Linked DNA regions of Homo sapiens: all the other regions are linked to region 1. Evidence: promoter capture Hi-C in human tissues and cell types (Jung and others, 2019). All regions are on one chromosome and are shown on one strand. The core of a region is centred on a gene start or on the middle of the fragment in contact, and the rest is flanking DNA. Distances in the headings are between cores, read along the strand shown.

What was found. Contacts are between HindIII fragments. The study calls those that stand out against the background at their distance.
Region 2: a fragment that was not itself captured here is called in contact with the fragment with the promoter of LDB2 in region 1 in 1 of the 25 tissues and cell types used here (heart left ventricle).
Region 3: a contact is called between a fragment that was not itself captured here and the fragment with the promoter of LDB2 in region 1, in 2 of the 25 tissues and cell types used here (H1 embryonic stem cells and lymphoblastoid cells).
Region 4: a contact is called between a fragment that was not itself captured here and the fragment with the promoter of LDB2 in region 1, in 1 of the 25 tissues and cell types used here (lymphoblastoid cells).
Region 5: a contact is called between a fragment that was not itself captured here and the fragment with the promoter of LDB2 in region 1, in 1 of the 25 tissues and cell types used here (dorsolateral prefrontal cortex).

What each region holds. Positions count from the first base shown.
Region 1 is chr4:16,897,292-16,900,109 of GRCh38, reverse strand. It overlaps LDB2 (LIM domain binding 2), which reads left to right and starts at 1,465. Exons shown (of 8, transcript NM_001290.5): 1 at 1,465-1,756. The coding sequence starts at 1,625. The HindIII fragment of the contact is 10,471 bases long and covers 1-2,818 here.
Region 2 is chr4:17,376,688-17,379,505 of GRCh38, reverse strand. No RefSeq gene overlaps it. Among named protein-coding and RNA genes, the nearest start is that of SNORA75B, 57 kb to the right of the region's middle. The HindIII fragment of the contact is 5,246 bases long and covers 1-2,818 here.
Region 3 is chr4:17,282,099-17,284,916 of GRCh38, reverse strand. No RefSeq gene overlaps it. Among named protein-coding and RNA genes, the nearest start is that of SNORA75B, 37 kb to the left of the region's middle. RefSeq lists an enhancer at 1-404. The HindIII fragment of the contact is 5,072 bases long and covers 1-2,818 here.
Region 4 is chr4:17,260,095-17,262,912 of GRCh38, reverse strand. No RefSeq gene overlaps it. Among named protein-coding and RNA genes, the nearest start is that of SNORA75B, 59 kb to the left of the region's middle. The HindIII fragment of the contact is 4,251 bases long and covers 1-2,818 here.
Region 5 is chr4:16,628,109-16,630,926 of GRCh38, reverse strand. All of the region lies in intron 2 of LDB2 (LIM domain binding 2), which reads left to right. Among named protein-coding and RNA genes, the nearest start is that of LDB2, 270 kb to the left of the region's middle. The HindIII fragment of the contact is 3,457 bases long and covers 1-2,818 here.

The sequences.
Region 1 (2,818 bases), core at 216-2,715:
TATTTTTAAGAGTGTAAATTGCAGAATTAGCAATACTCTATCCCCTGTTGGCTAGTGACTTGGAGATACCCAAGCCATGATTGGGGCAGAAAGTTAATTAATCTGCTTATTAAAAAGAAGAAATGTCTCATTTGCATGCATTTGCATTCAGGTCTTGAATTCATTATGCTTTTTGGTGGTCCTTTGCTTTATTTCCTTAATACCACTGACCTACCTAGGTGTTAGCTCAATACATTTAAATTTTGTGTGGCTGGGCTTTGTTTAAGTGTCGTATCTCTGGTTATAGTGGGTTCTAGCAGAATTTGATTATTTTATAGATTGTTTAATTCTCTATAGAGATTTTCCCCTTCCATGGGCTGTTGGGATTTCTTATGGTTATCATATACCACAGTTGGGAAAATATTTGTTTACTTGACCAATCTTGGAAAATACAGACTTTGTCTCCATAAGAGTTGGACATGTTATCTGGGGATGATCCATTCAATTATTTGCAATTTCCTTCTCAACCAAATTTTCCGTGGTCATTTTTGTGGCAGTTTTCTCCTTCTTTGCTTTTCCTGTCTTATTGGGAGGTCTGTTTGGGTTTTTTGTTTGTTTGTTTGTTTGTTTTTCCTTCCTGGGAAAAAAGACCATTGCTCTCCTTAAGTGTATTTTATACCTTCCACATTCAGAACGACTGTTTTTACCTGAAAATGCCCAGGCACCTTAAGGGCCTGAATGAAGTCTTTGGAGAAGAGGGAGGTGGCTGGGAAGAGGGGTGAGTGGGGAGAGATGGGAGTGAGATGGAGTGGAGGGCAAAGAATATAACAGCCCTTGGAACAACAGCAAGTAAAGCAAAACTACATAGGGAGATTAGTGCTGAAATAAATCTCTGCATGTGAGTGAATCACCGGTCCCAATTCGGGGCACCACAGTGCCCGTGTTTCTGTATTTTGTAGTAATCAACATTTCTGATACATTACAACAGTGTGGTTGTCAGGGGTGAGCGGCTCATGTAGCGGTTAGACCACCTCTATGCTAACAAGCTTAGCAATCAGGTTGTGAAGGGTCCTGGCTGGAGGAAAAAAATTAAAACCAAACCTTAGACCTCTTGTCAGACTGTGAGGAGAATTATATTTGTGAACTAGTCTACAATGTGGACAGGAAATGACCTCTCCACAAACTGCTTCTTTAAAAACAAGCAGTGGTGCCTAAAGCTATCCAGCTCCTCTCTCTCTCTCTCTCTCTCTCTCTCTCTCTCTCTCTCTCTCTCTCTCTCTCTCTCTCTCTCTCCCCCTCCCTCCCTCCCTCCTCCCTCCCTCCCTCCCTCCCTTCTTCCCTCCCTTCCTCCATACCAACCTCCCTCCCTCTCTGGAGCTCCTGCTCTCTCCCTCTCCCTCCTCTCCCGTGCTCCCTCCCTCCCTCCCTCTTTCCCTCCCTCCTCTCCTCTCCCTCTCCTCTCCTGCTATAGAGGGCTCCGACAGCAGTTCCCAGCCAGCGTGTTCAGCCTGCCTGCCTGCCTGCCTCTGTGTGTGTGTGAGCGTGTGTGCGTGCGTCTACTTTGTACTGGGAAGAACACAGCCCATGTGCTCTGCATGGACGTTACTGATACTCTGTTTAGCTTGATTTTCGAAAAGCAGGCAAGATGTCCAGCACACCACATGACCCCTTCTATTCTTCTCCTTTCGGCCCATTTTATAGGAGGCATACACCATACATGGTACAGCCAGAGTACCGAATCTATGAGATGAACAAGAGACTGCAGTCTCGCACAGAGGTAAGTACTTCAACCTTGGGGATGTGTTTGTGTATTTTTGTTAAGCTATGCATGAGCTTTTCCTAGGGTTTCTGGCTGAATTCTATGGGAAGTGTCCCACTTGATACTACCACGTACGTGGAAATGAGCGCCAGGATGAATCCACGAGTTTGGACGCTGGGTTTCCAGGCACAGCAACTCTTGTAGCAGAGGACAGTTTCTGCCGGAATCTTGAGACAACCCAGCACTTGATTCACATGCCGGGTTTCCAGAAATGTTGCTCTTCCAGAACTCTGGTGTTTTACAGGCTCTGAGTCAGTCCTGTTGGTGTTTCTTGAGATATAATTCCAAGGAATTTTGTGATTGTTTGCATCTGGCTATATATATATATACATATGTGTATATATATATATATATATATATATATACATATGTGTATATATATATATATATATATATATATATATATATATATATATTTTCTTTTTTACAAATCCTAGAGGAAGTCTGCTTTGACCTGTATTTACTTTTCAGAGTCACCAAAATCGAGGTAAAAAGGGGCAGAAGAGTAAACCTGCCTACTTCTCAGAACTAGCCCTGGAGGGACACATGTTTGTATATTTCAGTGTTAAAATCAGAAACCAGTTGCTTGGGGCAAGGGGACTCTAGACTTTCTCCTATTGCTGTCGGCCGTGCCCCCCTATCACTCTACCTTAGGACAGGAGCTGGTTCAGCTTTCAAGTCAGCTCTAGTTTTTGCATATTTGAGATCTTGTGCCTGAGAGAGGGAGACTCAGCCTCCTAGGCAGCCAGCAACTCTGGGAGCAGAGAGAACAGGACTTTCAGAACTTTTTAAATGCAAAACTCCAGACTCGCCTCCTGCAATTTAAATATTTTATGTCAGTTGACTTTTTCTCTGTGCTAGCTCAGCTGGCAGGTCTTGCTGCTGGATTGTCCATCTGCCTGTAAGTTGGGGCTTTGTGTGGAAGTGTTCGGAAAAGGAGTTTGTTATAGGTGCACCAAAGTCACTTTAGGAAGTGGAAATTGCTAGGAATTTAGTCTTCTCTGCAGAGTATAAATACCA
Region 2 (2,818 bases), core at 100-2,599, 480 kb before region 1:
GTAGGTTTTTGGTAGGTTTTACATTTTGTCAACGTAAAAATTTCTTGCATCTCATTTAATGTTCCACTCCTTTGAATTTTATTTCATTTGAAATTAATATTGAGTCACTGTTTTCTTTGAGGAGGACAGATTGGGGAATAGTAGCTAACATTTGTCTGATTTATCTTCCACTGTCACCTTATTTAAATTTCTTATTTTAATGTGATTCCTATGAACATCATGCAGACAGTTTTTATTTGTTTGATTTGGTTTGGTTTTCATGACCAATCTGGGAGTTTCTGTGTGGAAAATATAACCCAGATGTATTTGTCATGATTAATGGTATGTTTGGACTTATTCTTGCCATCTTATTTATTTCATGTTTTATTTGTGTTTTTCTATTTTGATCTTTGTTGAATTTATTAGGCTTTTTTGTTACATTTTTTTCCCTCTAGTAGTTTGAAACACTTGCATACTATTTATGGTCTTGTAGTGCTTTCTTTTAAATTATTGATGTACATTTAAACACATTTAATAATCAACATCTAGAATTATTTCCATGGTGCTTAATCTGGTGCCTTATTCAATTATGCAAATTTCTTCCCATAGGACTGTGGTTCCCAGTCTCTTTCATTTTATGAGCAGTAATATTTCCAAAAAATAAATTGTGGATCTATATAAGATTGTCAATTTTAATTTTGTCAAAAAACAATGTATAAAAATAACTCTGTATGACATCTGTCATATGCCATTGCCACCATTTCATAACAGATACTGTATTTTATTTTTAAAACAAGTTTTAAATTTTTAATTTTTGTGGGTACATAGTAGGTGTACAGATAGGAAATTTTATTGCTAACAAATTACAGAGGATGTGGTCTCATAATAAAAGGTCATTTGAAACAATTATATAAATATCTTACGTATTTAGCTTTGTGGAAAATGCCATGCTGGTTTTTCTCATTTCACTGTGGATTTATGAAAATTCCATCATGGCCTGATACTGAATTGAGGCCAGGCTTTTGGGCATTATTGGTTTGCAACCAATGTTTTTTAGCTTCATTCCCTGCTCCTCCACTTCCTACTGTTTCTTGACTATTTTAAACCCTCTTCCTTCCTTTCTTCCTTTCTGTTTTCCTTTCCTTTCTCCTTCCCTCCTTCTTTCTTTCTTTCTTGCTTCTATGTGTTTATGAATGATACTTAGCTTTTTCTGAAATGCCTTTCCCCTGCACTCATGGACAGAGATTACAGTTTATGTGAAGGATAGATTTTTAAAGAATTTACATAATTCAAAGCTAACATAATTGAAGATGAATTTTCTCACAGACCCAATAAAAGTATTTCTGATGGTGGGTTTCTGTTTACCGGCTCAAGTGGTAGTAACATGAACACTGCTTACAATTCACTTTGCATAACAGCACTGAAAATAATAGTTGCTGATGAACTAAACAATGTTTTGGAAATTGCCTAATTTTGAATTTTGTGCATAGATGGGGACTTCATTAATATTTTTATACCATATACTTTCACATTAATTCAATGTTGCATAATATGTAATTGCCCTTCATTATACTACCTCCTCTGATTTCTCATTAGTGCTTGATTATATTTGTCATAATAATTGCAATAGTTGCAGCAGAAACCTTCACTCATTTTCTCTAAGAATGGAGTTGCTGTTCTAATTGGGTAGAGCCTAAGTGCTCAATTGGGCAAAGTTAATGTCTGACTGGTAAGAGTATAGTGCCTGAAAGGAAGGGGGACTGTGTCCACTCTCCGAGGGCAGCTCTGATTGATCCATTGTCTACCATGAGGCCGCTGATATGGTTTGGCTGTGTCCCCACTCAAATCTCACCTTGAATTGTAATAATCCTCACATGTCAAGGGTGGGGCCATGGGAGATAGCTGAATCATGGGGACAGTTTCACCCATACTGTTCTCATGAATAAGTCTTATGAGATCTGACGGTTATATAAATGGGAGTTCCCTGGCACAAGCTCTCTTGCCTGCTGCCATGTAAGATGTCCCTTTGCTTTTCCTTCATTTTCTACCATGATTGTAAGGCCTCCCTAGCCATATGGAACTGTGAGTCCATTAAACCTCTTTCCTTTATAAATTACCCAGTCTTGTGTACGTCTTTATTAGCAGTGTGAGAACATAATACAGTCACCCTTGGCCAGGACTCATTGGCAGCAGCATCCCATGGTGGAATTGCTCTCTTTGTGCATCTGGCTTCCAGGTGGCAAGAGTACCTAGGCAGGCCTGCCTCTTTTTTGATTCTGCTTTGGTTCCCACACCAAAGTGTCTAACTTAGACGCTAACTTAGATGCTAACTTAGACGCTTAGCATCTAACTTAGACGCTAAGTTAGAGGGATGCTATGCCCCACAGATCCTGCTATACGAGGTTCAGGGCAACTGACTTCTTTAGACTTTGGGTCTTTCCATATATTAAATCCAGCATTTACTTGAGCATGTGGTATGTGTTTCCAGGTGCTTTTTCTTCTCTTTGTAATTTGGCCCTTGGCTTCCTCTTTGCAGCTTGTGTGGACAGCTTCCTCTGTAGGGAAGGGAGGGAGGAGTGAGTGCCAAATTGCTGAAACCTCTCTCTAACAAGCATATCCCAGGTTTGGTGGTTGGTTGGGAAGCGTGGAGTTGTCCTTGTCTCATTTTTCCAGGTGAAGCTGACGAAGCCCAGGGTTTCTGCTTTGTTTATCTTTTAAGATCCAGTCCTGGCAGCTCCTGATGTTCAACATTTCTGCTTTATTAAATAAAACTCCTTCCCTGTTAAATCATTGCCTGTGAATAGACAAGTCTCCCTTCTGGCTGAATGAAACACTTTTC
Region 3 (2,818 bases), core at 192-2,691, 380 kb before region 1:
TCTCTGGTCTCTGTGCACTGGGAGACTGAAAAACTCCCTCAAAAGTCACCCTCCGTTCTGGTCCCCTGGCAGCACCAGGGAGAGAACCCCCCTCACCACTTGCCTGAGATTCTCTCTTCCTTCATCTCTGGGCTTCCTTCATACATACAGACTAGGGTATTGGAGGTGGGCTGTGGGTCACAGGACTTCCTGAATGGGTAGTCTACACCTTTCCATATTTAGTTACAGTTTGCTGGAGGAGGAATGAGAGGGTTTTATTTATCATCTATTGTTCTCAGCTTTGGGCTTCAGCCAAAATTCTAAGACAACACCAGAAATTCCATTTAAGATCTTATTCTATGTGACGATTTGTTATTTTTTCTCAGGAGCTCAGCTGAGCTGGAGAGAGGGCTGAGCTATCAGGTGTAGGAGTAGCTGATGAAGCATCAGGGGGTTGACATGGAAGTACCAGCACAGCCTTTATTCACTAACTGCTATGGTACAAGCAAGGGGCTAAACCCACGCAGTAAGATTTCCCCTGCTGCCCATGGCACAGTGCACAGGCTGAGGTCAGGTGGGTCAGAGCAGGTGTGGGGTAGAGGGAGCAGTTTATGGACTCTGGGGTTGGGGAGGATCAGGGCTGAGAGCCAGGAGTGGAAAAGTACTGAGTACTGAGTCGGAGTGGGAAAAATGGTCTTCCAGGTTTTTCCGTTCTTTTCACCATAAGTAGGACTTGGCAGAGATGTCTGCAGAGGACCTCTGCCCAAGGTCTTGGACAAAGAAACCCAGGAATGAAGGCTCTGGGCCTAGGGTTACAAATATGTGAAGAGCAGGACCAGCTAGAGGGGCCTGAGTCCTTTCCAATTCCCTTCAGAGCCTGCCATGCAGTGGCTGTGAGCCAAGTCTGCTGTGGGAAGGGCAGATGTTGCCCATGGAGCCAGCCAGGTGAAGCCTTTGTACTTGCCTATGGTCGGGCCTGAAAAATCACACGTAGGTTTTTTAAACCAGGAGCTGGACTCTTCATTTTATTTATGTATTTATTGTTTCTTTTTTTCTCGAATGAGATCCTTATGAAGATAAGGACCTTCTCATTGGTCCCCTGTTGATTTCCCTCATGCGAAGCACAGCGCTTGGCACATAGTAGGTATTTGATAAGGATGTGTCGAGTAAATGGAGGAATTCCAGGCCAGTGCGGTACAGAGGGAAGACCCTGTTGTGGCCTTCAAGGGGGTCCTTGACGGATGAGGCCTAAATGACAATATTTGACAGAACAGTACATGTTTAACCAGCATTTATTATTATTAGAGGAAAGAAAGATTGTTATGATCAAGGGGGCAGGAGAGGCTTCAGGGAGGGGCATGGTTTGAGGTAGTGGGTCTGTTATGGATGGGATCTGAAGAGGTGGAACTCAGAAAACACCATTTGGCTCATAAACTTGACGTCAGGCTCACCCACACTTCCTAGAGCCATCTGTCTCGATATCTGCCACTTTCCCAGCGGAACACTTAGAGCATGCAAATATCTGCCCAAGTGCTCGCAGCTCCACACCAGCATCAAACCGGGAGGCAAAAGGAGAGGGTGGTATTTCGGGGACCCAAATCCTTCATCTCATTTAGTCCACAACTTTTTGGGTGTGGACATTTCATTCCCTTGTATTTTTTTTTTCTCCTCCGAATCATTTTTACTCTCTTTCATCTTCTGTCACTACTTCCTGCTTCTACTGAATTTTAAGCTTCTGTTTATTGAATGGGGATGAGAGTATTTTCAGGTTTGTTCGAATGCACAAAGGAAGAAGGGGCTTTGTAAATGCATGGCAATCCTCGCTGTATTCTAGGAATCTTTGATCCTCAAAACTTGTGAGCCTTAGTCCTCCCATCCTTGACCGTGGGGGACTAGTGCTCATTGTTTCTTAAGCACTTAGCCATTTAAAGACAAAAAGTAAAACCACAAAATCATAGAATCTCAGCTTAGAGAAGAACCTTCAAATTCCCCTGTATGTAAAAGGCAATATTTTTCTTTTGGGTGGATGAATTTGTAGGAACATTCCCTGGTAGGTCTTTTAGGTGAAGAAGACAAGCCCCTATCTTCCCCTTCCTTGCTCCACCCTGGGTGTACATTGGATGGCAAAGTTGAGGTCAATAAGTGTCTGGAATGTACTTGTGCAGCAAAATAAGGTCAAAGTTTGAATATCTATGGCAGGCAAGACAAAATGTTGTCAGAACCCAGGAGTCAAGGGTAGGAAGAGATGAAAGAACACAAGGAAATTTGCATGCTGCTAGACAAGAGGAGAAATAACAAAGCCAATCGGGCACTCTCTGTGGCAGGGAGTGGAGAATATATTTCTAGGGATTTGATATCTGATTTTTAGTTTGAAGCTGTTCTCTGCTTTATGCTCTAAATACCTTCTGCTGTCTGCAAAACTTTAGTAGAAATCTGCAGCACACGATTGTCTTGTGTTGGTGGTACTCTGGGGAATAAATGCAGAGGGGTGTTGTGCATGGGGAAGTGACCGGGAGAGGGCACGAGCCTCAGGAGCCAGAGGGTCCACCGGGCAGCAGTGATGAAGCAGGCATTAGGGTGTACTGACTCAGGTGGACAAGAATGAAGAAAGCCTGTGTAGTACTTCCTGCACCAGAGAGAGGCGACGCTTGAAGGACAGTGGGCAGGAACATGATTTAGAGTTCCCTTTATCTTTTTTTTTTTTTTTTTTTTTGAGATGGAGTTTTGCTCTTGTTGCCCAGGCTGGAGTGCAATGGTGTGATCTCAGTTCATCACAACCTCCACCTTCTGGGTTCAAGCGATTCTCCTGCCTCAGCCTCCCAAGTAGCTGGGATTACAG
Region 4 (2,818 bases), core at 127-2,626, 360 kb before region 1:
TACAAGTGTCCATCGATGGAGGATTAGATAAAGAAAATATGGTGTATAGATACTCACACACCATGGAATATTACTCAGCCATAAAAAGAATGAAATTATTTTCTTTGCAGCAACATGGATGCAGCTAGAGGCCATTATTCTAAATAAATTAATGCAGGAACAGAAAACCAAATGCCACATGTTCTCACTTATAAGTGAGAGCTAAATAATGTGTATACATGGACATAAAGTGTGGAATAATAGACATTAGAGACTCAGAAGTGTAGAAGGGTGGGATAGGTGAAGGATGAGAAATTTAATGGGCACAGTGTACATGATTCAGGTGATGGTTACACTGAAAGTCCAGATTTCACCATTATGCAATATATTCACATAACAAAATTGCACCTGTACCCCTTAAATTTATACAAATAATAAAATAAGTAGACCAACTTGGATTAAAATTGAGACAGGAATACGAAGGTCTTAGAGGCATCTCTCTGGGACCCCCAGAACCCTGTTTAAAGACCCTTCCAGTAATATATTCATATTCTGCATTGAACACTATTATACAGCCCAAGGTGATAACACTGTCAGAAAGGAACTTGATGGGTACTACTATTAAATAGTTCAAAATGTTCATTTGTCAGCTCATAGAAGAAAGTCTTTCCTGGGTATACGAAAGTCACTTTATGGTGTTGGTATGTGATGTGTGAAAAGGCAGGTTGTCTGAAAGTAGAAACTTTAGAAGTGGGCTGGCACGATGGCTCATGCCTGTAATCCCAGCACTTTGGGAGGCTGAACAGATGGATCACTTGAAGTGATCAGGAGTTTGAGACCAGCCTGGCCAACATGGTAAAACCCCACATCTACTAAAAATAAAAAATAATTAGGCATGGTGGCATGCACCTGTAATTCAGCTTCTCTAGGGAGGCTGAGGTGTGAGAATCACTTGAACTTGGGAGGCAGAGGTTGCAGTGAGCCGAGATTGCACCACGCATTCCAGCCTGGGTGATGGAGCAAGACTCCATATCAAAAAAAAAAAAAAAAAAGGAGAAACTTTGGAAGTGGATGACTGTCTGCATTTCACTGGTCCAGAACCACCTGTCTGAGTGCAGCCATCAGACAGCTCTGTCTTCTTTCTTCTCCAATCTGTTGCAGTGAACTCTGGTCCTTCCACTCACCTTTTCTTGGCTCTGAGACTGCATTCTCCTGTCCTGTCCTTTTTGGTCATCTCAGCTGCTTCTTAGGTACGGAATGAAGTGATTGATTTTTGAAGAATTTCAAGTTCTTGGCCACTCAACATGTGACCATGCACTAATTATTATGTTGAAATTGCTGTGATGTCAGGTGTTTTCCCCAAGGCTTTACTCTGCTCATTTGTAAAATTAGTTCTTCGATCACATTCTTGAGCTTTTTATTACACACACATTTGCTGAATGCCTGACACAGGTAAAGCACTGTGGAAACATGTGGGGCTTCCACTCCTCTTTCAAAAGCCTATCAAATGGCACCTCCTCCATGAATTTTCCTGCCTTTGTCGTGGAAAATTAGGGCTCCTGGTCCTGGGCTGGGGCTTGTACATGACTATAGGCCATTGTTGATTACAAGCTATACTGTAGCTGTTTACAGGACTGTCTCTTCCACTAGTGTATGAGCTTTTGAAACATAGGGGTGCTATGGACTGAATTTTTGTGTCTCCCCCAAATTCATATGTTGAAATCCCAACACCGAATGCAATGGTACCAGGAGGTGGGGCCTTTGGGAAATAATTAGGTCACAAGAGTGGAGACTTCGTGAATGGGATTAGTGCCCTTAGAAGAAAAACAGGAGAGGTTAATGATTCTCTCTGCTTTGTTCTCTATCATGTGAGGATACACTGAGAAGACGGCTGTCTGAACACTAGAGAGAGTCCTCACCTGAACCTGACCATGTAGGCATCCTGACCTCAATTTCTGGCCTCCAGAACTGTGAGAAATAAATGTCTGTTGTTTAAGCCACCCAGGGTATGATAGTCTGTTGTAGCAGCCTGCGCCAAGACAAGGGGCTTGCTTTAATCATTTTTGTTTGACTTAAGGTAATATGATTTGCACATAGCAGACCATCTACATGTGGAAGAAAGGAAGTAAAGAAAGAAGGGAGGGAGGGAGAAAGGAAAGAAACCGTGTGTGGTGGACACACTCTAAGGTTGCCCCCAATGAGTCATACCTCCCCTTGAGTGTGGTTGGAGCCTGTGACTAGCTTCTAGACCATAGAATATGACAAAGGAGATATGACAGTCACTCCCATTGTTGTGCTACATTACACTGGACTCTGCCCTAGCAGACAGGAGTGAGAGATAAACCTGCTGGCTTTGAAGAAGTGATCTGCCAATTTGTAGGAGGGCCTATGGACGGGGCCACATGGCAAGGAACTGAGGGTGGCTTTAGAACTAAGAGTGATCGCTGGCTGACAGCAAACAAAAAAACATGGGCCTCAGCCATGCATCTGCAAGGAAATGAATTCTGCCAACAACCATGAGTGGGCTTGGAAGTGAATTCTTCTCAGTCAAGCCTCCAGATAGGAAATTGGCTCAGATGACCCCTTGATTACAGTCTTGGGAGACCCTGAGTAGGACCATGCTGAGTCAGGCCTGGACTCCTGATCCCTGGAAACTGAGATGATGAGTGGATGATGTTTTAAGCTCTATGTTCATAGTAATTTTTTCTGTGGCTGCAGAATAAGATACTGAAGTCCAGAGTGGGAGGCAGAGAAGCCTCTTAATCTGTGAGCTGCCATCTAACATGAGCAGTCAACATTCCCCAAAGGGAGCAAGAGAGAGCCTTGCCATCATCATTCC
Region 5 (2,818 bases), core at 125-2,624, 270 kb after region 1:
TGGGTGCTCCCGTATTGGGTGCATATATATTTAGGATAGTTAGCTCTTTTTGTTGAATTGATCCCTTTACCATTATGTAATGGCCTTCTTTGTCTCTTTTGATCTTTGTTGGTTTAAAGTCTGTTTTATCAGAGACCAGGATTGCAATCCCTGCTTTTTTCGGCTTTCCATTTGCTTGGTAGATCTTCCTCCATCCCTTTACTTTGAGCCTATGTGCATCTTTGAATGTGAGATGGATCTCCTGATACAGCACACCGATGGGTCTCGACTCTTTATCCAATTTGCCAGTCTGTGTCTTTTAATTGGGGCATTTAGCGCATTTACATTTAAGGTTAATATTGTTATGTGTGAATTTTATCCTATCCTTATGATGCTAGCTGGTGTTTTCACCTATTAATTTATGCCGTTTCTTTATACGGCGTTGATGGTCTTTACAATTTGGCATGTTTTGCAGTGGCTGGTACCAGTTGTTTCTTTCCATGTTTAGTGCTTTCTTCAGGAGCTCTTATAAGGTAGGCCTGCTGGTGACAAAATCTCTCAGCATTTGCTTGTCTGTAAAGGATTTTATTTCTCTTTCACTTATGAAGCTTAGTTTGGCTGGATATGAAATTCTGGGTTGAAAATTCTTTTCTTTGAGAATGTTGAATATTGGCCCCCACTCTCTTCTGGCTTGTAGGGTTTCTGCAGAGACATCACTGTTAGTCTGTTGGGCTTCTCTTTATGGGTAACTCGACCTTTATCTCTGGCTGCCTTTAACATTTTTTCCTTCATTTCCACCTTGGTGAATCTGACAGTTATGTGTTTTGGGGTTTCTCTTCTCAGGGAGTATCTTTGTGGTGTTCTCTGTATTTCCTGAAATTGAATGTTGGCCTGCCTTGCTAGGTTGGAGAAGTTCTCCTGGATAATATCCTGCAGAGTGTTTTCCAAGTTGGTTCCATTCTCCCTGTCACTTTCAGGTACACCAATCAAATGTAGATTTGGTCTTTTCACATAGTCCCATATTTCTTGGAGGTTTTGTTTGTTTCTTTTCACTCCTTTTTCTCTAATCTTGTCTTCTCACTCAATTTCATTAATTTGATCTTCAATCACTGATATCCTTTCTTCCGCTTGATTGAATCGGCTATTGAAGCTTGTGTATGCTTCACGAAGTTGTTGTTCTGTGGTTTTCAGCTCCACCAGGTCATTGAAGCTCTTCTGTACACTGGTTATTCTAGTTAGCTATTCTTCTAACCTTTTTTCAAGGTTTTTAGCTCCCTTGCAGTGGATTAGAACATGCTCCTTCAGCTTGGAGAAATTTGTTATTACCAATCTTCTGAAGCCTACTTCTGTTTTTGTTGATGTTGATGCTATTCCTTTCTCTTTGTTAGTTTTCCTTCTAACAGACAGGCCCCTCAGCTGCAGGTCTGCTGGAGTTTGCTGGAGGTCCACTCCAGGCCCTGTTTGCGTGGGTATCACCAGCAGAGGGTGCAGAACAGCAAATATTGTTGTCTGATCCTTCCTCTGGAAGCTTCATCCCAGAGAGGTACCCATCTGTATTAGGTGTCTGTTGGCCCCTACTGGGAGGTGTCTCCCAATTAGGCTACACGGGGGTCAGGGACCCACTTGAGGAGGCAGTCTGTCCATTTTTGGAGCTTGAACTCCATGCTGGGAGAAACACTGCTCTCTTCATAGCTGTCAGGCAGGGACGTTTAAGTCTGAAGAAGCTGTCTGCTGCCTTTTGTTCTGATATGCCCTGCCCCCAGAGGTGGAATCTAGAGAGGCAGTAGGCCTTGCTGATCTGTGGTGGGCTCTACCCAGTTTGAGCTTCCCTGCCACTTTGTTTACACTGTGAGCATAGAACCACCTACTCAAGCCTCAGCAATGGCGGATGCCCCTCCCCCAACCAAGCTTCAGCATCCCAGGTCCATCACGGACTGCTGCACTAGCAGCAAGCAAAGCTCCATGGGCATGGGACCCACTGAGCCAGGCACAGGGTGGGGGATCTCCTGGTCTACCGGTTGTGAGACCATGGGAAAAGTGCAGTATTTGGGCAGAAGTGTACTGCTTCTCCAGGTACAGTCACTCACGGCTTCCCTTGGATAGGAAAGGGAGATCCCCTGACCCCTTGCACTTCCTGGGTGAGGTGACACCCCACCCTTCTTCGGCTCACCCTCCATGGGCTGCACCCACTGTCCAACCAGTCCCAGTGAGATGAACCAGGTACCTCAGTTGGAAATGCAGAAATCACCCATCTTCTGCGTCTATCTCGCTGGGAGCTGTAGACCAGAGCTGTTGCTATTTGGCCATCTTGGAAGTGACCCCGGGTGACTCAAATTTAAGAGAGGCTTTCTCGAATGGTACAGGACAAAAAAAAAAAAGATTTAACTCACCAGAGGACGGGTAGTGTTTTGTCAGGCAAAAAAAGTTGAGAAGGGTCTTTCCCAAAAGTTACCTTTCTCATCCCCAAATCATAGGAAGATGGATCTGATGCAAATACACTATCAATTTGGAAAATCAGTACCTTCAGTCCAGGGCCCTCTGTAGGAGCTGAATAGATGGTGAGCTTCTCCTGGAGAAGTTCTAAGTCAAATGGCAACATCTTGGGTTTTGGGAATCCATCCTGTTGGGAGCTTTTGGGGCATGAGATGAAAGAATGCTATTTTTCAAGGCCTTCCTGGAATTCACGTAATCCTTGCAAAACAACATTCTGATGAATTGAGTCAGAGTAATGCAACCCGTATATTTCTGATTCACACAGAGTTTACAAGCGTTTAGAAGTTAAAAGAAGAGGTACTAGGCATGATGTGCCATCCAGTTTCACTGCACCCAAACCGTTTGA